Linked DNA regions of Homo sapiens: regions 1, 2 and 3 are each linked to region 4. The links are contacts of gene promoters, found by promoter capture Hi-C in human tissues and cell types (Jung and others, 2019). All regions are on one chromosome and are shown on one strand. The core of a region is centred on a gene start or on the middle of the fragment in contact, and the rest is flanking DNA. Distances in the headings are between cores, read along the strand shown.

Evidence for each region. Contacts are between HindIII fragments. The study calls those that stand out against the background at their distance.
Region 1: a fragment that was not itself captured here is called in contact with the fragment with the promoter of CBR1 in region 4 in 1 of the 25 tissues and cell types used here (lymphoblastoid cells).
Region 2: a fragment that was not itself captured here is called in contact with the fragment with the promoter of CBR1 in region 4 in 1 of the 25 tissues and cell types used here (dorsolateral prefrontal cortex).
Region 3: a contact is called between a fragment that was not itself captured here and the fragment with the promoter of CBR1 in region 4, in 1 of the 25 tissues and cell types used here (lymphoblastoid cells).

Annotation. Positions count from the first base shown.
Region 1 is chr21:34,759,514-34,762,213 of GRCh38, reverse strand. All of the region lies in intron 1 of LINC01426 (long intergenic non-protein coding RNA 1426), which reads right to left. Among named protein-coding and RNA genes, the nearest start is that of LINC01426, 15 kb to the right of the region's middle. The HindIII fragment of the contact is 3,510 bases long and covers 1-2,700 here.
Region 2 is chr21:34,536,958-34,540,051 of GRCh38, reverse strand. The region is part of intron 1 of RCAN1 (regulator of calcineurin 1); the gene reads left to right. Among named protein-coding and RNA genes, the nearest start is that of KCNE1, 26 kb to the right of the region's middle. The HindIII fragment of the contact is 3,284 bases long and covers 1-2,997 here.
Region 3 is chr21:34,787,093-34,789,792 of GRCh38, reverse strand. RUNX1 (RUNX family transcription factor 1) reads left to right here. Exons shown (of 9, transcript NM_001754.5): 9 at 1-1,992. Among named protein-coding and RNA genes, the nearest start is that of LINC01426, 43 kb to the right of the region's middle. The HindIII fragment of the contact is 6,144 bases long and covers 1-2,700 here.
Region 4 is chr21:36,068,608-36,071,323 of GRCh38, reverse strand. It overlaps CBR1 (carbonyl reductase 1), which reads right to left and starts at 1,300. Exons shown (of 3, transcript NM_001757.4): 1 at 920-1,300; 2 at 267-374. The coding sequence starts at 1,208. It overlaps CBR1-AS1 (CBR1 antisense RNA 1), which reads left to right. Exons shown (of 4, transcript NR_040084.1): 4 at 839-1,682. RefSeq lists an enhancer at 995-1,244. The HindIII fragment of the contact is 9,879 bases long and covers 1-2,716 here.

The DNA of each region.
Region 1 (2,700 bases), core at 73-2,572, 1.3 Mb after region 4:
CAAGGAGCACTTGCTGATTGGCTGATTCCAAGCCTACTGAGTCATTAATATTACATCCTTCAATCCCGTAAGAATGTGGTGAGATCCAGGCTATGCTTGACCTGACCTGACAAGCTGCATGATTTAAGGGAAACAGCACTCGAGTCAAAGTAGACTACTGGAGCCAAGATCTGGTTAATTTGCATATGACTTTAGGCAGGTCACAGACCCTCTTGTAGCTTCAATTCTTACATCATAAAGTAAAGAAATCAGCTGAGGTTAGCAAATATTTATTGGGAGATCACTGCCATCTTGGAGCCTCAACACTGCAGTAAGACTCAGTGCCTGTCCTCAAGGCCTAGAGGACTGATGGAGGAGGGAAGCAAGATGGAGACAAGGTCTGCAGAAGGAGTCAGGAACCAAGTCAGAGGGCTCTCCATGGAGCTCTGGATCCCAGAAGAGGGCCACACCCATCCCATCCCACGGCTCATGGAAACCTCTCTATAGGAGAAGGATTTGAAGAGAAGGTATCTCAGCAAACAGAATAGGAGGAAAGAAGGTGTGACCTGGGACCCATAAGGGAAGCTCAGGCAGCAAGGATTACTGAAGTATCGAGCCTGGGATGGGAAGGAGTGGCGGGTGCAGCTGTGACTGTGCCCTTCCAAAGATCCAGCCAGCTCTGACTCTCCAGGTGTCTGTGTTCCACAGGATGGTGCAGCGAGAGCACAGGCCAGGTCAGGGACAATCGAAACAAAACGGGTTCCACTGAGGACCAGGACCAAGGAAAAGTTCCCTTTGCATCCACTGGGGACCTATGGCTGGGTAGGCAGGAGCCTTTCCTCTTCAGCCCGAGCTCTGCCAAGCCTTGCAGGAGCTGCATGCATGAGTGCAGAGGAGTTAAGGAGATGGTCCCTGGCACTTGAAACCCCATTCCCACCTCCAGCATCTTCACTGCATGATGTCCCTGGTGCCCAGGGCTCGTTCTCCCCTTAGGGACATGGGCCCACCTGAGATCTCTTCTGCTGTCCCCGCCTCCTAGGGTTAGCACTGCCTCTAGTGTTGGCATGCCCCACTGATCAGTGGCCTTACAGGGACCCAGTGGCCTTGCAGGGACTATGGTGCATGGCATTACCCTCATCTCATTTGATTCCCACCACAATCCTTCGAGGTAGTATCACTGCATGCATTTTACAGATGAGACAGTGAAGCTTAAAGCAGCTAATTGCCCCATGGTCCCAGAGTTAGTTAGTAGTAGAGCTAGGATTCGAATCTGGGTCTCTCCTCCCCAAGCCAGGGAGCTGAAGCAAGGTCTTTCTCTGCCTGGAAGAAAGGGCCTGTCCATTTGCTTGACAAACAGGTTGGCTATTCCAAGCTTTGTCCCAACCATCTTGGCCAGGCCACTGAGCTCCTCCCATATCCCAGCCCACCCCATTCATCCCCTAAATCCAAGGCCAGCTCCTCACCCTCCCCTGAGCATGGCTGGATCAGATGAGCAAAAGCAACAGCGCTCACAAGATTGCCCCACTTGGCTCCAGCAATTAATTAAGAGCCGTCTGAGAGCCTCCAAGGGGCCTGCAAGCTCCAGCAAGATGCGGCACACATGGCTCAATCCAAAATATTCACTGTGTTTTTCCCTAGCTGGGGAACCAGTCCTTACCTGTTACCTGAACCTGATTAAATGCCCAAGCCGCTCACTCTTGGTGCCAGCCAGGAGCCAGCCTGCTGGTCCTATGGAAGGTGGGGTGGTGGCTGGAAACTTGACAATGATAGTCATCCGTCAATAAATACGGCGTTGTTTATGGGCTATAACATGAAGCCTCCAGGGCCTGTGCCAGGCACTGCTTATTCTGGTCAACAGGCTGCTGGTACACAGGAGACCTATGGGCTCAGCTGGGGCATGGGAGGAGCCCGAGACTCAACCCAGAGGGGACCATGGGGAGGGCTGCTCTAGGCCATGTTGGGGGCCTCATCACCACCATTCTGGTTCCCAGGTGGTCCATCCTCCACCTGGCACCGGACAACCTGGGTCAGGTATATTTTGTTGTTATTCCTCTGCATAAGACCTTCCATTGCCTTCGCATATACAGTTGGGCCCTTGAATGTTGGAATCTGATTTAGACATAACACTTCCTTGGAAAGCTCATACACCAAGAAGAAAGACACCTGCTATGACGGTGGTGGACCATGGCCCCTCATAGTCTTAGACTTGTCTTAGGGATCAAGTGACTCTGTCCCACCCTGCAGCATAGTCTATGTTCTGCCAGCATTAAAATTAAAGTCCTACTGGCTCTCACTCCAAAATACATCCGAACCCATCCATTTTCTCCACCAACACCTAGACCAGGGAGAGCTCAGTAGCCCTTTTTGGTGAAGAGCCAGATAGTGCATACTTCAGGTGTTGTAGGGCAAGAGGCAAAATCAAACCTACTATGCAGTTACTTATTATTATTTTTTTTTTTTGAGACAGATCCTCACTCTGTCACCTAGGCTGGAGTGCAACGGTGCAATCTCAGCTCACTGCAATCTTCCCTGCCCGGGTTCAAGTGATTCTCCTGCCTCAGCCTCCCGAGTAGCTGAGATTACAGGTGCCTACCATCACACCCAGCTAATTTTTGTATTTTTAGTAGAGACAGGGTTTCACCATGTTGGCCAGGCTGGTCTTGAACTCCTGATATTAGGTGATCCACCTGCCTCGGCCTCCCAGAGTGCTGGGATTACACG
Region 2 (3,094 bases), core at 106-2,605, 1.5 Mb after region 4:
CAAGAAGAATGGGGAAAATAATGCAGGTGAGCAAGGAATAGATGTAGGGACATGGCAGTGACAAGAAACAATTCAGATGAGTGTCCCCTGGCACTCAGACAGCCCTGACTCCAGTGAGAATGGCTCAGCCAACACTACTGATTAAATGAGAATTTCACCAGATAAAGATGGCAGGCAGGAGAGGTAATCAAAGAAAGACAAAATCAGTATTTTCTGGTGAAATCCCTGTTTCTAGGTATGAAATAGGATTCTTTCAATAACTAGCACTCCAAAATGTTAATGGGTTAAAATGAGCAGGTTTAGAGATTGTGCATAACAGATACAGAGCAAATATTAAAAGCCGTGATACCAAACCACTACACAAAAACAGGCAAAGTCGATTTTCTCTCCAACTAACCTTTACCCTTACATATTGTGTCTGTTAACCACGGTTACCTTGACCATTGATATATAGCATCTAGTGAGGGAAGGGGAAAGGAGAAGCTTTTTTGTTATTATAAAAGTAATAAGTGTTCATTGTGGAAATTCATGCTAGAATCTAAATAATCCAAATCCAAATAATCAAGAAGAAAAACACAGGAGTCTTCTAATACTATCACACATATTCTTTCTTTTCACCAAAATGAGAACAATAAACATTGCTTTGTAACCTGGTTTTTTCTCCTAACAGCAAGTCTTGAACATCTTTTCATGTCATTAGTTTTCACCACCTTACTATGAGTGGCTCTATAGTCTACTGAATGAATTTAGCATGTATATTATCTGATCACGGATCTTGATGTATTTTATTTACATAAAACTATATTTTTGCATATTTTATTTGCCTTGCAGGAACATATTTGCATCTAATGTTTGCCCACAGCCATGAGGATTTCTTTAGAATAAATTCCTAGGAGTGAAATTGTTGAGTCAGTATTCGGGATTTGAGTTGATGCGGTTTATACTGAAAGTTTAAACTGTTTGAATTTACCGCTAATCTTACCGATATTCTTCTTGAAGCTCCTTACATGGATGATGAGCTAATGATTTGGAGTGGAATAAGCAGCATTTTTGTAGTGTTCAGTTTAAAGGCTGTCACATTTCTGAGACTTCAGATGATTAACTTAGGGTGCAAGTCTGGAGCCTTCTAATTCCTTGAGCTTGGGCCTTGCGGGTTGGTCGGTTAGCTGGTCGGTGCACTGGTCACAGTGACACACCCCAGGTCACTTCAGAAAAATAGAATTTGTCTCCCAGCCTCCCTTGACAGTCAGCCCTGTTGGGGCAGAGCAAAGCCACCTTGCCCAAGTTCCACCCCCTTCTCAGGGTAGCCCCTTCCCAGAACTGACCAACGTGGGGGTATCAAGGCCCGGTCCTCCTGCTCCGATAAGGGTCGTCTCATCCTCAAAGCTCCCTGTAGAGTCGGCTAGGCTTCCACTAGGACCACTTGGTAGCTTCACTCTCCCTCTGCCCAGTTTCCTTTCCCCTCCCCACCACTCGTCCTAATAACCTCCCCTGCGCAAGAACCTCTGTCTTAGAGTCTGGAAGCGGCCAGTACCCATGGCGGGGAGTGGATGGGGAATTGGCTGGGGAGTTGGCAGTAGCTGTGGTTGATCACAGTATGTGCCACATAATTTCACCTCTACAGAGGACAGTAGAGCCACTGTGTCCTCCCTCAGGATGGAGGAGCCCACGGTGGCTTGGACCAACAGGGAGCGTTTCTTAAATGGGTGAAACAGGCACAATCTTCCCATCATTTTCAACATAAGGAATAAAATGTACCATAGATTTGTACAAGAGCAGTTTAAAATGCTCTCTTCTCCGAATGATCTTTTAAGAAACTATCTTAAAGACCACACTCTGAAAACACCTGGACCTCAGGCTCCTTTCAAATTGTTTTTCTGTGTCTTCGAATGCCATTCCTGACAAAACTTTTTTTGCCTCCATGAATCATGAGCTAATTCTGTAGAAATCTGTAAGTGAATTACAGTTCAGATTCTTCCTCTGTCTTCCTCTGACATGGCCCAATCATTTCTTAATAATTGCTAAAGAAACCAACTGTGGTTTATGTTTGAGCAGAATCAAGATCGTCGCTATAACCATGTCACCACCATTCCCTGGCATTTACAGCATAATTTCAGGAGTGGGAGACAACATTTCACAGATGCCCAGGGAGTCACCCATAGGAATGTGATGTGCCCATACATGGGCCAGATGAAAAAATAAGTACACACACACACACACACACAATTACCATGTGGGAGTGAGGGCCATGCCCTCTCCATGTATAATTCGGTGTAAATTGTTAGGCATAGAACAGCTTGAGCCCCAGAGCTGGGTAAACTTCTCTGCCTGTACGCCTGGCACCTCACACCATGGCTGGCCCTAGCAGGTGACTAATCTGTTTTTGATGAATTACCAAATTAAGCCACAAATTGAAATGCCCTGGGGGCTGGTCAGCCAGCAGCCATCATTGGTGGAGGGGCGAGTAGACCACAGACAGTGATGAGGCCTGGGGTATTTGAAGAGCATGGGTTCCCCAACAAGGGGCATCTGCTCGGCCACAGTGAAATGGAGCTCTGGGCCCAGGGTGGCCACATCTCCCCGGGCCACCACCACCAAAAAGAAGTCAGAAGTTCTATTTCTGTGTGACACCTCCCAATTTTTCAATATTAACAACTAATTTTCCGTCAATGTTAATGGGCTACAGTTCACCAGGAGAAAACTAACTGGGCCATTCTAGGCCTGATGGAAAGGGAACAGCTCTTAGGAATCAGATACTCGGTGCAAAGATGTGTGCCCACATTTTAGTCACTTGACGGGAACACCTAGATTTTCCTGATGAACCAGGTTGGCACAGTTGTTCTCTCTTTGGGTGGACAGAGATAATATCCAAGTTGTGGTGGGGTCTTGCTTGTTCTTTGTATGTAGTTTATTGTTCCTTCAGTATGTTTTGAATCATTGGTGACCTTCATGAAGATGACAGGACATGCTTCCTCGTGTGACTTGTTATCAGGCTTTTAAGTCATCAGCAAAGAATGCAGGCCAAATGCAGAAAGAAAGCGTTTGCAGTGCCCTGTTGGGACTTCTCAACTGCAGACATGGAAACAGGGTGTGT
Region 3 (2,700 bases), core at 43-2,542, 1.3 Mb after region 4:
TGAACCTTTACTCTCAAAGCCATGTGTGGAGGGGGCTTGTCACTATTGTAGGCTCACTGGATTGGTCATTTAGAGTTTCACAGACTCTTACCAGCATATATAGTATTTAATTGTTTCAAAAAAAATCAAACTGTAGTTGTTTTGGCGATAGGTCTCACGCAACACATTTTTGTATGTGTGTGTGTGTGCGTGTGTGTGTGTGTGTGTGAAAAATTGCATTCATTGACTTCAGGTAGATTAAGGTATCTTTTTATTCATTGCCCTCAGGAAAGTTAAGGTATCAATGAGACCCTTAAGCCAATCATGTAATAACTGCATGTGTCTGGTCCAGGAGAAGTATTGAATAAGCCATTTCTACTGCTTACTCATGTCCCTATTTATGATTTCAACATGGATACATATTTCAGTTCTTTCTTTTTCTCACTATCTGAAAATACATTTCCCTCCCTCTCTTCCCCCCAATATCTCCCTTTTTTTCTCTCTTCCTCTATCTTCCAAACCCCACTTTCTCCCTCCTCCTTTTCCTGTGTTCTCTTAAGCAGATAGCACATACCCCCACCCAGTACCAAATTTCAGAACACAAGAAGGTCCAGTTCTTCCCCCTTCACATAAAGGAACATGGTTTGTCAGCCTTTCTCCTGTTTATGGGTTTCTTCCAGCAGAACAGAGACATTGCCAACCATATTGGATCTGCTTGCTGTCCAAACCAGCAAACTTTCCTGGGCAAATCACAATCAGTGAGTAAATAGACAGCCTTTCTGCTGCCTTGGGTTTCTGTGCAGATAAACAGAAATGCTCTGATTAGAAAGGAAATGAATGGTTCCACTCAAATGTCCTGCAATTTAGGATTGCAGATTTCTGCCTTGAAATACCTGTTTCTTTGGGACATTCCGTCCTGATGATTTTTATTTTTGTTGGTTTTTATTTTTGGGGGGAATGACATGTTTGGGTCTTTTATACATGAAAATTTGTTTGACAATAATCTCACAAAACATATTTTACATCTGAACAAAATGCCTTTTTGTTTACCGTAGCGTATACATTTGTTTTGGGATTTTTGTGTGTTTGTTGGGAATTTTGTTTTTAGCCAGGTCAGTATTGATGAGGCTGATCATTTGGCTCTTTTTTTCCTTCCAGAAGAGTTGCATCAACAAAGTTAATTGTATTTATGTATGTAAATAGATTTTAAGCTTCATTATAAAATATTGTTAATGCCTATAACTTTTTTTCAATTTTTTTGTGTGTGTTTCTAAGGACTTTTTCTTAGGTTTGCTAAATACTGTAGGGAAAAAAATGCTTCTTTCTACTTTGTTTATTTTAGACTTTAAAATGAGCTACTTCTTATTCACTTTTGTAAACAGCTAATAGCATGGTTCCAATTTTTTTTAAGTTCACTTTTTTTGTTCTAGGGGAAATGAATGTGCAAAAAAAGAAAAAGAACTGTTGGTTATTTGTGTTATTCTGGATGTATAAAAATCAATGGAAAAAAATAAACTTTCAAATTGAAATGACGGTATAACACATCTACTGAAAAAGCAACGGGAAATGTGGTCCTATTTAAGCCAGCCCCCACCTAGGGTCTATTTGTGTGGCAGTTATTGGGTTTGGTCACAAAACATCCTGAAAATTCGTGCGTGGGCTTCTTTCTCCCTGGTACAAACGTATGGAATGCTTCTTAAAGGGGAACTGTCAAGCTGGTGTCTTCAGCCAGATGACATGAGAGAATATCCCAGAACCCTCTCTCCAAGGTGTTTCTAGATAGCACAGGAGAGCAGGCACTGCACTGTCCACAGTCCACGGTACACAGTCGGGTGGGCCGCCTCCCCTCTCCTGGGAGCATTCGTCGTGCCCAGCCTGAGCAGGGCAGCTGGACTGCTGCTGTTCAGGAGCCACCAGAGCCTTCCTCTCTTTGTACCACAGTTTCTTCTGTAAATCCAGTGTTACAATCAGTGTGAATGGCAAATAAACAGTTTGACAAGTACATACACCATATCCAATTGGTTTTGTCTTTCTCTGAGATGGAGGGTTGGGAAACTGAGTAAGGCCCACTGCACACACTAGGAAGATACCTCCAGTGAACAGCTTCAGGCTGAAGCTATGTCCTCACCCCCGGTGCTCCTAGCACACTCTGGCTTCTGAAGGCATGAGGGCCTGGAAAAGGCGCAGGCTCCCAGGGTTGCTTCTTTGCATATGAAAGAGCACTGAAGCATGTTTTAATGCTTGTTTTAAAAAATAATAATAGGCCGGCGCGGTGGCTCACGCCTGTAATCCCAGCACGTTGGGAGGCCGAGGCGGGCGGATCATGAGGTCAGGAGATCGCGACCATCCTGGCTAACACGGTGAAACTCTGTCTCTACTAAAAATATAAAAAATTAGCCTGGCGTGGTGGCGGCTGTAGTCCCAACTACTCAGGAGGCTGAGGCAGAAGAATGGCGTGAACCCGGGAGGCGGAAGTTGCAGTGAGCCGAGATCGCGCCACTGCACTCTAGCCTGGGCGACAGAGCGAGACTCCATCTCAAAAATAATAATAATAATAAAGAAACTAAAAAGAGTTACATGACACTAGCCAACCCAAAGTGGAAAGGGCTGTATGTTCAACCTAAGGCCAGGAAGCTTCATCTGCCTTCATTGCTGTACATTGCAGGAATCAGGCTTGGGTAGTGGTTGGGAGTTTTTTAAAAGAAATACTTCTCTCACCAC
Region 4 (2,716 bases), core at 51-2,550:
GACGTTTGAGCTAAGACCTGAAGGATGAGAGTCAGCCAGGTGTGCAAAGACCAGTGCGACAGGGAGGACGAATGGCCATGGGAGTGGGAGAAGTGAGGACAAAGTCCTGAGGCAAAATGGCACATATCAGCTGGCAGGAGAAAAAGCACAGAGGTCAGTGCACGTGCAGCATGGAGAGGAAGCAGGAGCCTGCAGGAGAAATCCCAGGCAAGCAGGGGCCAAATCAAGCCCCAAAGAGAAGGTGCGCTGTTTCCCATCAGACTCACCTTGGGGTTTTATTAGAGGGAGTAATTCTGTGCACACATCTCGGGTACCAAAGAAATTTGTTTTCATCGTCACTTCAGCTTGAATATGAAAGGGTGTGGGATCAGCAACTTTTAGGAGAGAAAGAGAACATAGTTAATACATTGTACCCATGGGGTAAAATTCTATACAATGATACTAAAAAAAAAAAAAAAAAAAAAAAAAAACTTAGTGCCCTCTGCCTAAAGTAAGTCTGTATCTGGTTACAGTATTGTGCCAATGTCAATCTCCTGGTTTGATCATGTTCTAGTATTTTTGTAAGATGGCACCATTGGGGGAAGGAGGATGAAGGGTGCACACACTGGATCTTGGCATAACCATTTTTTCTTTTTGCAATTTGTCGTTTATTTTAAAATCAGTTCAAAATCCATCCAGTTGCCTTAAAGCTCAATTCAGAAAAACTGCAGAAAACCTGAAAAAGATCCCCAAGAGTCCCAGCCAGGGAAACACAAAGTTCCCTTTGGCTGGAAAACTCTCACTTTCTCCAAGGTTTCTGCACTCCCTGCATCTCCTAGCTCCTCCCTCTCCTCCCTAGGGAGGCGTTATGGACCCCGCAGACGCCAGGAGCCCCAGTGCATCGGTTCTTCTTCGGGGAGGCCACGTCCCCTCCCCATACCCTTGAAGGCGATGCCCGCGTTGTTGACCAGCACGTCCAGGCCCCCGTACTCCTTGCGCAGGAAGTCGCGCAGGGCGCGGATGCTCTGCAGATCGTCGATGTCCAGCTGGTGGAAGCGCGGGCTCAGGCCCTCCGCCTGCAGCTGCTGTACGGCCGCCTGGCCCCGCGTCACGTCCCGCGCCGTGAGCACCACGTCCCCCGAGAACAGCCGGCACAGGTCGCGCACGATGGCCAAGCCGATGCCCTTGTTGCCTCCAGTCACCAGCGCTACATGGATGCCGGACGACATGGCTGAACGGGGCGCGCGGAACACCTGCGTGGAGAACAGACCTGGCTCAGGCCCGGGAGCCCCGCAGCGTGTTCCAGAGACTGCTCGAGTCTGGCGGTCGTGGGCGCGCACCCGTGGGTTACACGCCCGGCCGCTGAGCGCGCAGGCGCAGGCCCCGCCCTAGCGGGGCGGGGCTGAACCATCCCTACCCCTCCCCACCGGAACCTCGCCGGGGTGCGGAGCAGGCGGAGAGCCAGCTAGCCTGACTTTGCAGAACCCGCAGGCCGAAGACCGAGGCTGGTCTCTAGCTACTGGCTGTTGGCTGCCCACGTGGCAGTGAAGAACCATTCCTAGTGGCCATGTGCCTAGATCTGAACTCACTGCTTGCCCTTGGTTCTCTGAGGGGTTTTCTTCATATTCTCCCAGCTGTTCAATCATTCCTAGTTGTGTTTGAAGAAATAGTACATTTGCATGGTTTTTTTTTCTTTTTTTCCTGGTGTTCTAAAAAAAAAAATACTGCAGGAACTGCAGTCTTTGGAGCTAGAGTTGCAGAAGAAACTGGAAGGAAATAACAGGGCATCAAGTTTTTGTTGATTTTCCCCCTAAGTATATGAAAACAAAGCTACTGACTTAGCCAGATTTTCCAATAATGGTGGGAAACATTCACTAAATCTTTATAAGGTTACTTCTCTGGGCATTTGCAGGGCCATCAGTTTATCTGTGCATAGGTGTAGGGGGTTTCACAGCCCTATTTTACACGGACAATAACACTCTAGGATGTACCTTTTAATCCCCATCTTAAAATGAAGAAACAGGGATCCATCCTCAGAATTTATAACTTAGTTCAGTGGTGGGAAATTGTTAGAGAAATGCCAGGAGTTTGGTCTAGGTCTGGTGGTTCACAGCACAGAAAGCCAGTCACTGAGACCCCATTATTGTCAGGGAAGAAGGCATTATTTGGGTGCTACAGCCTAGGGGGGAGAGATCAGTCTCAAATCCATCTTCTCAACTGATTAAAATTAGGATATAGCAGGGAAGAAATGTAACTGCATGTGGGAAAATAGCAGGAGTTAGGGAGAGATGAAGAGGAGTGGGTCAACAGGCATCAGGCAATTGTTGCAGGTGAGGGGTCTGGTGTCTGATTTTCCAGATGTGGTGATCCGATAAGTTTCAGTTCCTTGGTGCTATCTGGGAGGACTGATGGCTAGTTCCCTGAGAAAGGAACTCAGATAAGACAAATGTAAATTTCTCAAGTTTTTAGACTGGGAGGGTCAATTTGTTTATTCAAAAGAGACCAGGCCTGGCGCGGTGGCTCACGCCTGTAATCTCAGCACTTTGGGAGGCTGAGGTGGGTGGATCATGAGGTCAGGAGTTCAAGACCAGCCTGGCCAAGATGGTGAAACCCCATCTCTACTAAAAAAAAAAAAAAAAAAAAAAAATACAAAAATTAGCTGGGTGTGGTGGCAGGCGCCTGTAATCCCAGCTACTTGGGAGGCTGAAGCAGAGAATTGCTTGCTTGAACCCCAGAG